Linked DNA regions of Homo sapiens: region 2 is linked to region 1. Evidence: promoter capture Hi-C in human tissues and cell types (Jung and others, 2019). All regions are on one chromosome and are shown on one strand. Each heading gives the region's core, a stretch centred on a gene start or on the middle of the fragment in contact. The rest is flanking DNA. Distances are from core to core; before and after follow the strand shown. Region 1 holds the start of FAM78A (family with sequence similarity 78 member A). Region 2 overlaps EXOSC2 (exosome component 2).

What was found. The method cuts DNA at HindIII sites, captures the fragments that hold promoters and counts their contacts. A contact is called where the count stands out against the background at its distance.
Region 2: a contact is called between a fragment that was not itself captured here and the fragment with the promoter of FAM78A in region 1, in 2 of the 25 tissues and cell types used here (bladder and lymphoblastoid cells).

What each region holds. Positions count from the first base shown.
Region 1 is chr9:131,273,061-131,279,675 of GRCh38, reverse strand. FAM78A (family with sequence similarity 78 member A) reads left to right here and starts at 3,166. Exons shown (of 2, transcript NM_033387.4): 1 at 3,166-3,819. The coding sequence starts at 3,497. RefSeq lists enhancers at 1,357-1,456, 3,637-4,136, 4,297-4,346, 4,377-4,426, 3,839-4,451 and 4 more and a silencer at 1,817-2,996. The HindIII fragment of the contact is 9,704 bases long and covers 1-5,139 here.
Region 2 is chr9:130,695,909-130,702,523 of GRCh38, reverse strand. It overlaps EXOSC2 (exosome component 2), which reads right to left. Exons shown (of 9, transcript NM_014285.7): 3 at 4,897-4,942; 4 at 4,273-4,362; 5 at 3,130-3,195; 6 at 1,589-1,657; 7 at 214-390. Among named protein-coding and RNA genes, the nearest start is that of EXOSC2, 5.4 kb to the right of the region's middle. RefSeq lists an enhancer at 3,192-3,301. The HindIII fragment of the contact is 4,089 bases long and covers 2,402-6,490 here.

The DNA.
Region 1 (6,615 bases), core at 1,917-4,416:
GCCTTGAAGAGAGCCCACCCCCGGGAAATCACCTCCAGCAGCTTCACTGCTCACAAGGCGGTTCAGGGCTCTGGTCCCTGTCCTTTCCACGAGAGGGACGTGCAGCTCTGGCCCTGTTCATTGAGCACTTGAACTTGTCACCTCATTTCCAGGATAGCATTCCTACCCTCACAGAGCACCCTGGCCAGGCTGTCGGGGTGATGAGAGTCGGGAAATGAAACAGACATCTCAAAAGTGAATATCGTCCCTACATATAAACTGGGTAGTGCAGTAATTATCTGATGGCACAAGAGGTGCAGAAGGCCCTGTGACTGTCAGAGGGACAGAAGGTTTTGTGGGGGCCATTAGTTCATGGAAGGGAGAGGCCATTTCACATGGTGAAGAGGCCAGAGAAGACTTCTTCCTGGAAATGGACATTTATGTAGAGCCCTGATGTAATCTGTGTGCTGTCTGGGGTTCTACTGTGTCCAACAGGCCAAGGGGGCCATCTCTGTGGCCCTGCCTTGGCCCGAGTCAGTGGGACTAGGAATAAGCCACCTACTAGCTGAACTGGAAAGGGACCACCTCCTCATTAGCTGGGGATACGGGCCATAGCAGTGCTGGGGTGAGGGTGTGGCTGGGTGAGAGGCGGAGGCCACCCTAGCCAGCCACTTCCTGCTCCATGGCTGAGCCGGTGCTGCTGTGAGATGTCCTGGTTGTTAACCCCTCAAAGGAGAGATCCAAGAGTGGCCAGCCCCTCGGTCCCTCCAGCCCTGCCCTCACACACTCAGCGTGCTCCGGCTCTGGGACTGGCTGGAAGCACCTGCCCTGTGCCGGCTGTGGGCACCTGTGGAAGTCAGAGTCATGGGGATGGGGTGGGGACGAAGAGCGTGGCTTTAATGTAGCTGCCAGATGTACTTATGTCACAAATTGCTTGGGCTTTCCCTACGGCTGGCTGGAAGGTAGGGGTGGGGTTCATAGCTCTCCCATGGCTGTACAGCCTCATGCTCCTTTTGAGCCCCTGCACTGGGACCCCTGCGGGGGGACGGGGGGAAGGACCTTGGGCAAATCCCCTAGCCTCTCAGCTCTGGGTGCCTGCTCTGTGAAGTGCACATCATCAGTCTCCCTCCACAGGGAGGCCGATGGTGGCTGAAATGATGCTCTGTACAGCGCTCATCACACAGCCGGGGTCCAACAGGCAGCCAGCAGACCTGCTCGAGGGGACCCACCTCTCCCCAAACTGCTCTCCCCTCCCCGCGACCTTCCCAGCCTTGGAGCCTACAAAGCCCCCGCGCTGTCTCCACCAAGCCACTGTCTCCCTGCGGTCAGGAACCCCAGGGCAAGGGAGCCCTTCTGCGGGTGCTCCGAACCCCAGAAAGCCTCTGGTCCATAGAGTTCAAAGGGCACTGGGAGCAGCCCACCTGGCCCCGAGACAGCAGCGGAACTACACTACCCAGAATTCCCGGGGCTGGCCAAAAAGGAAATGTCGTTTGTTCAAGGAGAGGCTCAGCTCCCCGAGCAGCTGCAGAGACAGGGAGCGAGGGGGAGCGAGGGATTACCAGGGGGAGGGCGGGCTGTGTGCGGGGAGCGAGGGTGGAGAGCCAGGCGGGCGGGGAGGAGGAGGCGGCGCCCGCCCGCCGCCGCCGCCGCCGCCTGCGGACCTGCATCCCCGCGGGGCCGGCGAGCGGGCGGCGGTCCCTGCGTGCGCCGGCTGCGCTCGGCCGGCGGCGGCGGCGAGCGGACGCGGGGGCCGGGCCGGCGCAGGGGCCGAGTTTCTGCAAAGTTTGACCCGGTTGCCTTTCCGATGCTGCAGCAGAGCGAGGCAGCGCGGGGCGCGCCAGGCGGCAGCGGCGCGGCGGCGGGGCTGAGCGGCGACAGCGCGCTCACAATGATCATAAAATAAAGGAGGCGCGCGGGGTGGGGGCGAGAGAGCCCCGAGCCTCAGCCCTCCGCCCCCGGCCGCCCCCCCGAAGCCCCAAGCCGGGAGGAGGGTGGGGGCCGGGGGCGCCCACGCCGGCCCCAGACTCCAGTAGAGCCAAGGGACAGTGCCCGGGGAAGGGGGTGGGGGCGCCCCAAGAACGTGCCCGCGGCCGGGTCAGGGGCGTCCGGAGAGCGGCTGCCCGGGCCAGCGGAGTGGCCCCCGGGGCAGGTGAGTCGGCGGCGCCGCCCGAGTGGGGGCGTGCGCGCCAAAGTTCCCCGGCAGCGGCGAGCGCGCCCGACGCGTGGGGACCCGGGGCTGCTCGCGGCTGGAGAGGGGCGACAGAGGCGCTTGACGCGGCGGAGCGGGGGCACTATGCCCTCCGAGGGCCGAGGGACCCCAGCCGGGAAAGGGGTGCCCGCCGGATCCGACGGCACTGGTGGGTGGCCCTGCGCCCAGGGAGCCGGAGGGACCGGGGTGGGGAAGGGGCACCTGGCGCTGGCGGCGCGGCGGTGGGGACAGAGCAGGGCAAGTGCTCGCCGCCCCCTGCAGCGGCAGCCGCTCGCCCCCCACCCCGCCCGTCCGGGACGGTATCAGCGGAGATGTCACGGGCGGCTATTATTCGCTGGTGCGCGCGGTCGTGCGGCCGCCACTGACGGGGCGGGCGCGGGGGGCGGGGGCCACCGCCTCCGGGGAGACCGCCCAGAGCTGCGCCGTCAGCTCCGCAGCCCGCGCCCAGCGCACACGCGTCGCCGCCCCCGCGCGCCCCCCGCAGCAAAGTTCGGCTTAACTTTGAGGCTGGCCTTGACGCGCTGTCCCTTCCACCTCCCACCAGGTCCTCGGCGGCCGCGGCGAAGCAGGCGGCGGCGGCCGGAGCGCAGCCCCGGGACCCTGCACGGCGGCCGGCAGCGACAGCGGCGAAGGGACGCGGCGCCCCTGCGTGGGGACGTCCGGCCCGCGCCCGCGAGTGGGCGCCGACGGGGACCCGCGCCGCGCTCCCCCGTCACCGGCGAGCGGCCGGAGCCCTGAGCTCGCCTCCTGGAAGCCGCGGGTCGGCGCTCGCCCCGAGGGCGCCGGGACCTCGGCCGGGTGAACACAAACTGCTCTGCAATTGATTCGACCGCGCCGGGCGGGTGCGGGTGCGGGGCCCGGAGGGAGCGCGTGCGGAAGGCCGGAGGGCAGGAAGTCAGGCTTCTGCCGCGAGGGTGGCGCGGCCGCGCGGGGACAGAGCCTTCCTTATTTATGAGTCTGCCGGCGCTCGCCTGCTTCCTCCGAAGACTTCAGGGAGAGTCTGCGAGCTGCCGTCCCCGCGTGTGAGGCACAGAAGGGCTGGATGTCAGAACCGCATAATTATTCATTAAACTACAAACTTTTTTTAACCCAAAGAATATCGGTGATTTTTGTCCACTGCGAGGAGAAGAAGAGAGAGCCCAGGGCTCATGAAATGCAGCAGAATCCTTATTTATAAACAGGCCGCGGTAGTGATATATGCAACCCCAGTCTACTCAGTGAGTTTTCTATCCTATGGATATCGGTCTTGAGAGTTGAGATTGGAGAGCAGCGCCGTCTGTACTGGGTCCTGCAGCCTCTGTCCTTTCAATGCCTGGTTTTTTCTGTGACTGCTGGCCTTCCCTGGAGATCAGAGCGCTCCTGTATGCCATGGGCTGTATTCAGAGCATCGGAGGCAAAGCCAGAGTCTTCCGGGAAGGGATCACGGTGATTGATGTGAAAGCCTCCATCGACCCCGTCCCCACTAGCATCGATGAGTCCTCCAGCGTGGTGCTCCGCTACCGGACACCCCACTTCCGGGCCTCGGCCCAGGTGGTCATGCCGCCCATCCCCAAGAAGGAGACTTGGGTAGTTGGCTGGATCCAGGCGTGCAGCCACATGGAGTTCTACAACCAGTACGGCGAGCAGGGCATGTGAGTACGGCCGAGAGCCAGCTCTGGGAACTGCTAGGGATGGCCGAGCTTGGAGGCCTGGTGGGGGGCCGCGGATAGGGGGAAGGTGGAGATACCATGAAGACAGGACGGAGGCCAGAGGGAAGCTTTAGGCAGGTATGCAGGTGGCCTCATTGGCCCGGTGGCTCCCTGAAAAGTTTGCCTGTGGATCCAGATTGGAGTCACGGTCCTGCAATCTACCCTGCCACTGTTCCCCCCGGGTTCCTGTGTCCTTCCCTGCAAGATGCCGAGAAAGCAGAGAGACATTACTCCCAGTGTTTCCTGGCAGAGCAAGTGTGCCGTCCGCCTGAGGAGTGTCTGTGCCATCAGGGGTCACCAGAGAGGCTGCAGGGCTGCCCTCCAGGCCTCTGGCCCTGTGCGGGCCCATGGCAGACATTCAGGCACTCTGCAACTCCCAGACCGGTGTGTTCAGGGCTTTGCGATTGGGCCTCAATTATCTTTCTGGCTTTTACCAGTGTATGCCAGGAGCTGGGGGAGTGCTTCCCCGTTCCAAACGGCACTGTGTTTGAGAGCACAGTTAGTTTTAGAAGCCCGATTTCTTCACAGTGTATCGCTTTCTGTCTCCAAGGCAGAAGACCGCTTTATGCAGACAAGTCCAGTGTCCCTCTGGCGAGGCCCTAACAGGAACAGCAAAGAGGAGCCTCTCCTCTGCAGCCCCAAAGCCCGGTCTCCAGAGTGTGCCTAGGGTATTGGGGGTCCCGGTGAGGACCCTGGGACCCTGGGGCTCCTTTCCTGGCCTGCTTCCTGACCCCAGAGAAGGCCGTCCCCAGGGTGAAAAGAGCTGCATTTAGGCAGAGTTGGGAGAGTGACTTAATCTGAAGGTTCACCCTAAGACAGGGATGGTGAAAATAGCTGTTTCTGAGCGTAAGGACCCTTTGGAGAGAGCTAGGCAGGCCCCGGCGGGCAGCCCACCCATGCGGCCCCGTGACTGGCCGCTGACACTCCCAGAACCTCTCTCAGTGTCTACCCTGTGGCCCCGTGACTGGCCGCTGACACTCCCAGAGCCTCTCTCAGTGTCTACCCTGTGCAGCTTCACGTCCCCGTTTTGCAAGTGGGGAAAAGAGGAGAATTTCCCCAGGAGCTGGAACTTATCACAGATTTAAGAATCTCATGGGCCACCTGTAAATGAGAGGGGTGGAGGATGGCGGGACACCAAGTCTGGTGGCTTCTCTACTTAATGACTCCAAAGTTCTAAAGGAAACATGAGGATCACAGTAACCCTTAAGTCCAGCGTGTGACAGTGACTGTCCCAAAGAGGTACATGGGGGGCACATCTAGAGGCTCTCACCGGCCCTCTCCACCAGCCTGATTTCTGTGCCAACCCCTTTGTGTCTCAAGAGCAGCTAGTAATCCAGTTCGGGGGAGGGGGTGCTGCCTTTCTGTTCTAAGCAGGGAAACATGATTCTTAGTTATGCAGTGAGGACCTTTTCTAAGAACGCTTAAGCCCAGAAACCTCCTCGGGCTTTGAAGGCATCGGGACAGTTGTAGAAACAAAAGTTTTCCTCGGGGTTTTGGGCTAAGCCTAGTTTCTTCCCTGGAAGGGGTAAGGAAGCCAGTGGGTTCTTCTGAACTTGGAAAGACATGAGCACTCACGGGACTGGATGCTAATGTGGTTGGTGCAACGTGTGGTGGGGAGGCCACAGGCCTGACCCAAGGTACAGACTCCAAGCCTCAGCTTCCCCATCTGTGCACATGGGCTTCCGATGTCTTGTCTAAGACTTGTTCTCCATCTGGTGACCCTGAGTAGGTGTGGGTGATGTGGCTGGAGCTAGGCCTGAGACTGGGACCTGAGACAACCCTGCCCTCCCTGTCGCAGTCCTGGCTTCCTGGTTGGAAGAGCCTCATGCCTTCTTAGGCAGATCTGGGCGGGAGGCCAGGTTCTGCCACTCTCCAGGATGTGGCCCTAGGCAAGTCCCTTTACTGCTCTGACCCTCAGTTTACACATCTGCAAACTGGGGCTGGCAAGAACCCCTTCCCCATGGCTTATTGTGAGAATCACTCAAGCTAACCAAATTCGCCATGCAGTCAGCCCTGCGCCAAGCTGGTGGTGAATACTTACCGCAGGCAGTAATGGGATGGGGATCATCCTTAGCGGTGTTGTGATTGTTACTGTTATTCTATCAGATGTGAGTGGCTAAAACTACAGAATTAGGACAGATGTCAGCCACACCGTGTAGTGAATTTTCTCCCCAGGCCGAGTCTTTCTCTGTCACGTAGGGCCCACTTCCTGAGTTTAAAACTTTTTAAAGCAGTGTAAGGCATGAAGAACTTGCGTTTTAAAGTGGCTCCAGGCCATTTTCCTTGTTCTCTCTCTGCCCCTGATGTTTCTCTTTGCTCCCTCTCGCTCTCGGGACTCCTCTTTTGCTGCAGGGAGCCTCTGTGTCCCACCCAGCTCATTCTCCCTGGGTGCACTGGCTGTGCAATCCCGGTTGGGATACACGGGGACCAGCCCCAGGGACAGGATGGAGTCAGAAGCTTCCTGGGAGGGGCGGCTTGGAGCAGTCGGGCAGAAGGGTCCACGTGTCTTGGCTCCTAGGCCTTGGCCAGGCAGCCCCCGGGGTTCCGTTTGGTGTCCGTCCATGAGGGGGAGAACTTCCCGTAGGCTGCTGTGAGGATTCAGCGAGAGGCCAGTATGGGTGACCGTCCTGTGGCTGAGACGTAGAGGAGGAGGCTGCCGAGTACTTGGTAGTAATCAACAGAATCATCCTAAGGGGCCGAGTTACCAAAGAACAGAGTCCCGGATTCAACCTGCACCCT
Region 2 (6,615 bases), core at 3,197-5,696, 580 kb after region 1:
CACCTCCACCAACAAACACCAAACCATTCACTGAATTCATCTCCTTAGAAGAGAAGATAATATGGGCTTCATGAACATACCGTGATGGAAAGTCAAAGTGACTCAGCCTACACCAGTAACATAGCTAAAAACAACCAACTTCACTGGCCACAAAAACACAGCAAAGACTGAGCCCCCTCCATCCCACTGAAAATGGCCACAGTGTTTGCTCACCTCCAGGTTTGCAATGAAGCCCCCTGCTTCCTCTTCTTTGTGCTCAGGTGTTGGGTAAATCCAGATGAAGCCGTTGTTACCGAGAATCACTGAGGCACCACATGGCAAATCATGAAAGTGGGTCTTCTGCCGTTTCACCAGGGAGGGGGAAACCTGGACCAAAACCCCCTGACCTAGCTAAAGAAATATATCACGAAGCTAGGTCACTGCAAGATTGGCGGGATGAATGAAAAGGAGACTACAGAATATACATCCTAAGTATATTCAAATTGGTGTCCTTCCTGTTTATAATTGCTGTCGCCTACATGCATACACATAGTACACATTTTTGCAGAGAACGCTTTGGGACTCAGAGGCTATTCATACATCCCAGCAGAAGGTGACCTTCAATACTCTTCTCTGTCATTTCCCTTTGCAGTCTTCCTTGCACTCTAAGCCAGAACTCATGTGCCAGACATTAGAGAAGCTGAAGCCAATGAGGAAGTGAGCTGGAGCCTCCTGCTGGCCCAGGAGCACTGCGTTGTTCCATGACCCTAGCTCATACCTGAACCCCAAACACTCATCTTGCCTGTGAGATGTGTGCCTCTGGGTAGGTAAGGAGATGGGTGGAGCTGGGTGCAAATCCATGTCTGGTCCTGGCAGGACAGCTCAAGTCCACGTCCTGCCAAGGAAGAGTCCGCAGGACCCAGGGTTGTGAAAGTCAGCATACTGCAGCAGTCCTCTGCCTACTCCATGTACATCAACGTGGCTGTCTGCAGCCACTCCATTAAGGGAAGAGGTTTTTGTTCCACTCAGAAAATAAAAACGTTCACCCAGATAAAGCTAAGAGACTAGTAAATCCTAATTTGTTTTAGGAAGTATGCTCTCCTTAAAATAGTAAATAGCTTCAATAATGCAACCTCGTACAAGAAAAGCAGTGAAATTCCATTTAGAGGCTCAGATGACAGAGCAAGCTTTGCCAGCAATAACATCCACTGGACTGATTGGACGTTTGTCTAAGGGCTGTTTAACCAGACCCAGCCTGCCTTTGTTCCCAGGACAGCCTCAGCCCCAGTGCTGAGCTGCAGCGCCCCCTGGAGGAAGAGAGACAGCTGCACCTCCCAGCCCACAGTTGGAGGGGCTCTTCTGGTGAAAGTCAGTCTCCTTGGAGAAAAAGGATAAAACTTGTTCTTTACAAGGCTACTGACCCATGACCCTGTGAACCCTGACCGTCCTGATGTTACGTTTAAGGAACACGATCAGTTTGTGGGATGCCAGCCTCTATTAATGCTTAGCTACTGGGGTTCTTTAGGCCAGAATTCCAGAGAGCTATGGGGATTCAAAAATAGCCTTGTAGTCTCAGTCAGCAAACAGGAACATCAAGAGCCCGACTTACTTTTCCATATTTCAGGCTCCTCGTGTGCAAAGAGACAGCTCCGTCAGAGAACACTGCCTGGACCTCAGCCTGGCCAGGGTGATGAAGGAACAAACAGCAGCCTTGGCCACACACTGTCCTGTCCTCTGCAGCCTCTCCCCTTGACCCCACACCTCCATCTTTTCCTCCCCTCTCCAATGGTCCAGGCTCAACAATCTTTGACCCAGAGCACATCACTGTGACCTTACCTCTCCCCTTGGTTGTCATGAATATCTTTTTTTTAAAAATACAGACAGAAGGCCAGGTGCGGTGGCTCACACCTGTAATCCCAGCACTTTGGGAGGCTGAGGCAGGTCGATCACCTGAGGTCAGGAGTTCTAGACCAGCCTGACCAACATGGAGAAACCCCGTCTCTACTAAAAGTACAAAATTAGTCGGGCATAGTGGCGCATGCCTGTAATCCCAGCTACTCAGGAGGCTGAGGCAGGAGAATCGCTTGAACCCGGGAGGCAGAGGTTGCAGTGAGCCGAGATCCCACCATTGCACTCCAGCCTGGGCAACAAGAGTGAAACTCCGTCTCAAAAAAATAAATAAATAAATAAATAAATAAATAAATAAATAAATAAAATAAAGACAGAGGCCAGGCATGGTGGCTCATGCCCGTAATCCCAGCACTTTGGGAGGCCGAGGTGGGCAGATCACCTGAGGTCAGGAGTTTGAGACCAGCCTGGCCAATATGGTGAAACCTGTCTCTACTAAAAATACAAAAATTAGCCAGGCATGACGCACGCCGGTAATCCTAGCTATTTGGGAGGCTAAGGCAGAATTGCTTGAATCCAAGAGGCGGACGTTGCAGTGAGCCGAGATCGCGCCACTGCACTCCAGTCTGGGCAACAGAGCAAGACTCCGTCATTAAAAAAAAAGAAAAATTTAAAAAATAACATAAAATAGAGACAGAGTCTTGTTCTGTCACCCAAGCTGGAATGCAGTGGTGTGATCATAGCTTACTGTAGCCTTGAGCTCCTGGGCTCAAGCAACCCTCTGGCCCCAGCCTCCTGAGTAGCTAGGACTACAGGCATGTGCCACCACGCCCGGCTAATTCTTTTTTAATTTTTTTGTAGAGAGGGGGGTCTTGCTATGTTGCCCAGGCTGGTCTTGAACTCTTAGGCTCAAGCAGTCCTCCCTCCTTGGCCTTCCAAAGCGCTGGGATTACAGGCATGAGTCACCACACTCGGCCTGTCATTAATATCTTGACGTGAACAACACCTTCTCCACTCCCTGCGCTAAAAGTTAACACCATTAACAAAAGCCTAGTCTAAAGCACAGGCCACCGTAAGTTACAAGACCCAAAGAAATGACTTAGCAGCAGGTCCCAACAAGAGCTGGGGAGTCAGCCTGAATTAAGGAGACTGAGAAAGGATGCAGCAGAGCCCGACACTTGGTCTAAGACTCGGATCCCTGCAAGGATGACATGGTTCTTCCGTCAGAGACATACAATGGAAGGCCCATTTCCCAGTCCCACAGAAAAGCATCAAGAGGCTGGAGTGCAAAGCGCAGGATACACTGATAAGGTCCCCTTCCTGTAAGAAACCTCTCATTGCAAGCTCATCTTCTGCAGATCTTCTCCTCTGAAATACACAAAGAAATGACATTACTTAAGCCAGATCCTCAGAAAGGTCTCCATCACTTCTCTTTCACTTCCTTTTGAGATGTTTGAGGCCAACCACAATATTCAAGCACTGAGAACTATAGCAAGAGTAGGTAACCCAAGCCACTTGAGGGGAATCAGTGATAATCACGACTTTCCATCTCAAAAGACTTTTCCACAGCTCCTCTTCCTCTTTCCCTCCCTTCTCTGAGGAACATTCAGACCCCTCCCAATCTCACCTAGCCAACATTTCCATAGTCATCTTCCATGACAGCCCTCTGTGGTCCAGCAGGACCAGACTAACTCCTGCTTGGATATATCTCTGCTCATACATTTCCCTTTATCTCAGATTCCCTGAACTAGTCATTCAAAGTCTCTCCATCCTTCCAGGATCAACTCCAATGCCTGTCTTTCCTACAAGCTTCTCTCACTGAAATTTCCTTTTGTATAACCACAGCTTATTTATTCTTCTACTGCCAGGGACTAGGTCAGTTATCTTATATCCCCTGCTGGGGAACTCAATCGTGCTTGGCACTCGGCACAGAGCTTGGCACAGTAAGCCTCTCTGTAAATACACGCTGGACTGAAGATCAAGGTGAACCATGGCATTTTACAAAAGGCTGTGGCTTAGTTACTGTGGTTGTCTGGAATGCCAGCAACCACATTCCACACATGGTTGAATGAAATGCCTTTCAATTCACAAAAACCTAATGTAAAGACAACTTTTCAAGGAACATCTTCACTATGCAAGGCTGTTATATCCAAAAAGGAAAACTGTTAACAACCAGCATCTAAGGGCTTCTCTCCCCAACTCTCTGTTGGGATCCCACCCCATGGATGTTTCTGATCCTACCATATGCCAACTGCTCCCTCTTTCGGGAGACCTGGACAGGGTGAAAAGTCTACATACACATCTAGGCAGCAAACTTCACAGCAGACAAACAGGAGTCAAAGGGGCAACCTCAGTGTAAATCAAAGTCCTCTGGTGGAACAAAGGGTCCCACGGCTCCCCCCAGCCCACTGGGCCCTAGTCCATGGCCCCAGCTGTAGCCCTTACCAGCTCTCCTCCAGGAAGGTTCATGGACGAGAGCAGCAAGACCGAATCCAGCCTGGAGTTGGTCTCCACCTTCCACCTCTTCTGTTGAACCTATAAGCCAAGTTCCACACCTGGACACATGCTCCATGTTCATGTGTCATATCATAAATAACCAGTAAGGCCAGATGTGGTGGCTCACGCCTGTAATCCCAGCACTTTGGGAGGCCGAAGCTGGTGGATCACTTGAGGTCAGGAGTTTGAGACCAGCCTGACCAATATAATGAAACCCCATCTCTACTAAAAATACAAAAATTAGCTGGGCGTGGTGGCGGGTGCCTGTAATCCCAGCTACTTGGGAGGCTGAGGCAGGAGAATCGCTTGAACCTGGGAGGTGGAGGTTGCAGTGAGCCAAGATCATGCCACTGCACTCCAGCCTGGGCGACAGAGCGAGACTCCATCTCAAAAAAAAAAAAACATGAACCAGTAATCTGAAATCGAACAAGCCACATATTTACATCAGAAGCCACACAACGGCCAAATGCAATGAATGCCTTTTTCATGTAACTACAAGTGGAATGACTGTCCCATGAATGAAATCGCCAGCCTGCCTCGACTTTGTAAACACCAATCTGATATCGACGTTACCTCTGTGATTCGTCCCACTACGATGTCTCCTACTTCACCAATGTATCTGAAAGACAAAACACAAGGGGTTCATCCATCTGTGAGCAGACTTTCTGACAAGACCACACACCATTTGAGATGTCGGTTCAACAGGGTGAAAGCCTGGAACAGGCGCCACATTCAGCAAATTCATGTAACTATATTGTCTGGACTTACTTTCAGAAACTGCTAACTTCAAACATTCCTCCACGTATAAAGTCTCCATTAACTATCCTTAGACATATCACCATTCCAAGTAGTTCATTTAGCCCAAAAACCCTATTTTGTTCGATTACACGACAATGAAAAACACGGACTATTTTCCTGTGGCACATGGATGAGTTCTGCACCAGCCAAAGGAAGAGAAAGGAAATCTGAGCCAGGACTCCAACCACACAAGTCTGCTCACGTCTCCTCCACTTACTCACTGCCTGCTCCTCTCAAGCCCCTTTGCTAGTTCCTTACCCGCGATTCTAATGAGACGTACTCAGTGCTGAGGCTAAGTCCTTAGACCTCTTCACTTTTCGGCCACTCAATCTAATACCTTTAAAACACCACTCTGTGCTGTGACTGTGCCACTCTCCTGAATTCCAAATCCTACTCAACTGCTAGCTACCCAACTCTGCCATCTAGATGACTAACAGGCATTTTCAAATGTATCAAGCACAAAACTAAGCTTTCCCGCAGCCCCCTCCAGTCCTCCATAGCAAACCGAGATAGGGGATGAGTTGTCCCCATCTCAGTCAACGGTGACTCCATCCCCTCAGTTGCTCAGGCCAAAAACCTCGGAGAGTTCCTTGATTCCTCTCTCTCTCTCACGCTCCAGGACAAGTCCAGTAGCAAAACCTGTTGGCTCTACCCTTAAAACATATGCAGGAAATAAAAGGCATCCAAATTGGAAAGGAAGAAGTAAACTTATTTCTATTCACAGTTGACGGGGTCCTATGCACAGTAAAGCCCAAAGAATACAAAACCCAACAGCTTTTCATGATTTTAAAAAAACACTCGGAAAATAAAATCTGTGTAGATTCCAATCACTCCTCCACCTTCCACTGCTCCCACCTTAGTTGAAGCCACCATCACTTCAGATCATGAGTATGGTCCCTAATCCACCTCCCTAAGCTTGCCCTATCCCCCTTCAATCTCCCATCAGCAGCCAGAGTGAGCTTAAGTCCAGATCAAGTCCCTCCTCTGCTCCACCCCTTCCAGTGCTTCCCAGATTACACAAAGTAGAAGCCAAAATGCTTACTCTGGCTACAAGGCAGGCCCACGCCCGCCCACCTCAGCTCTCTGCTTACATCTGCCCCTTCTCTCCCCCTCACTCACTCTGTTCCAACCCCACTGGCTTGCTTTCTGGGGCTAACCTTCATTGAATGCTTCTAGGTATCAGGCTCTGTGCTAAATACTTTACAGGCACCATCTCACTGAATTCTAAAGAAAATCCTAGGCCAGGCACAGTGGCTCACGCCTGTAATCCCAGCACTTTGGGAGGCCAAGTGGGGGGAAATCATCAGAGGTCAGCAGTTCGAGACCAGCCTGGCCAACATGGTGAAACCCTGTCTCTACTAAAAATCGAAAAAAATTAGCCAGGCGTGGTGGAGGGCGCCTGTAATCCCAGCTACTCGGGAGGCTGAAGAAGGAGAATTGTTTGAACCCGGGAGGCGAAGGTTGTAGTGAGCCGAGATCACGCCACTGCACTCC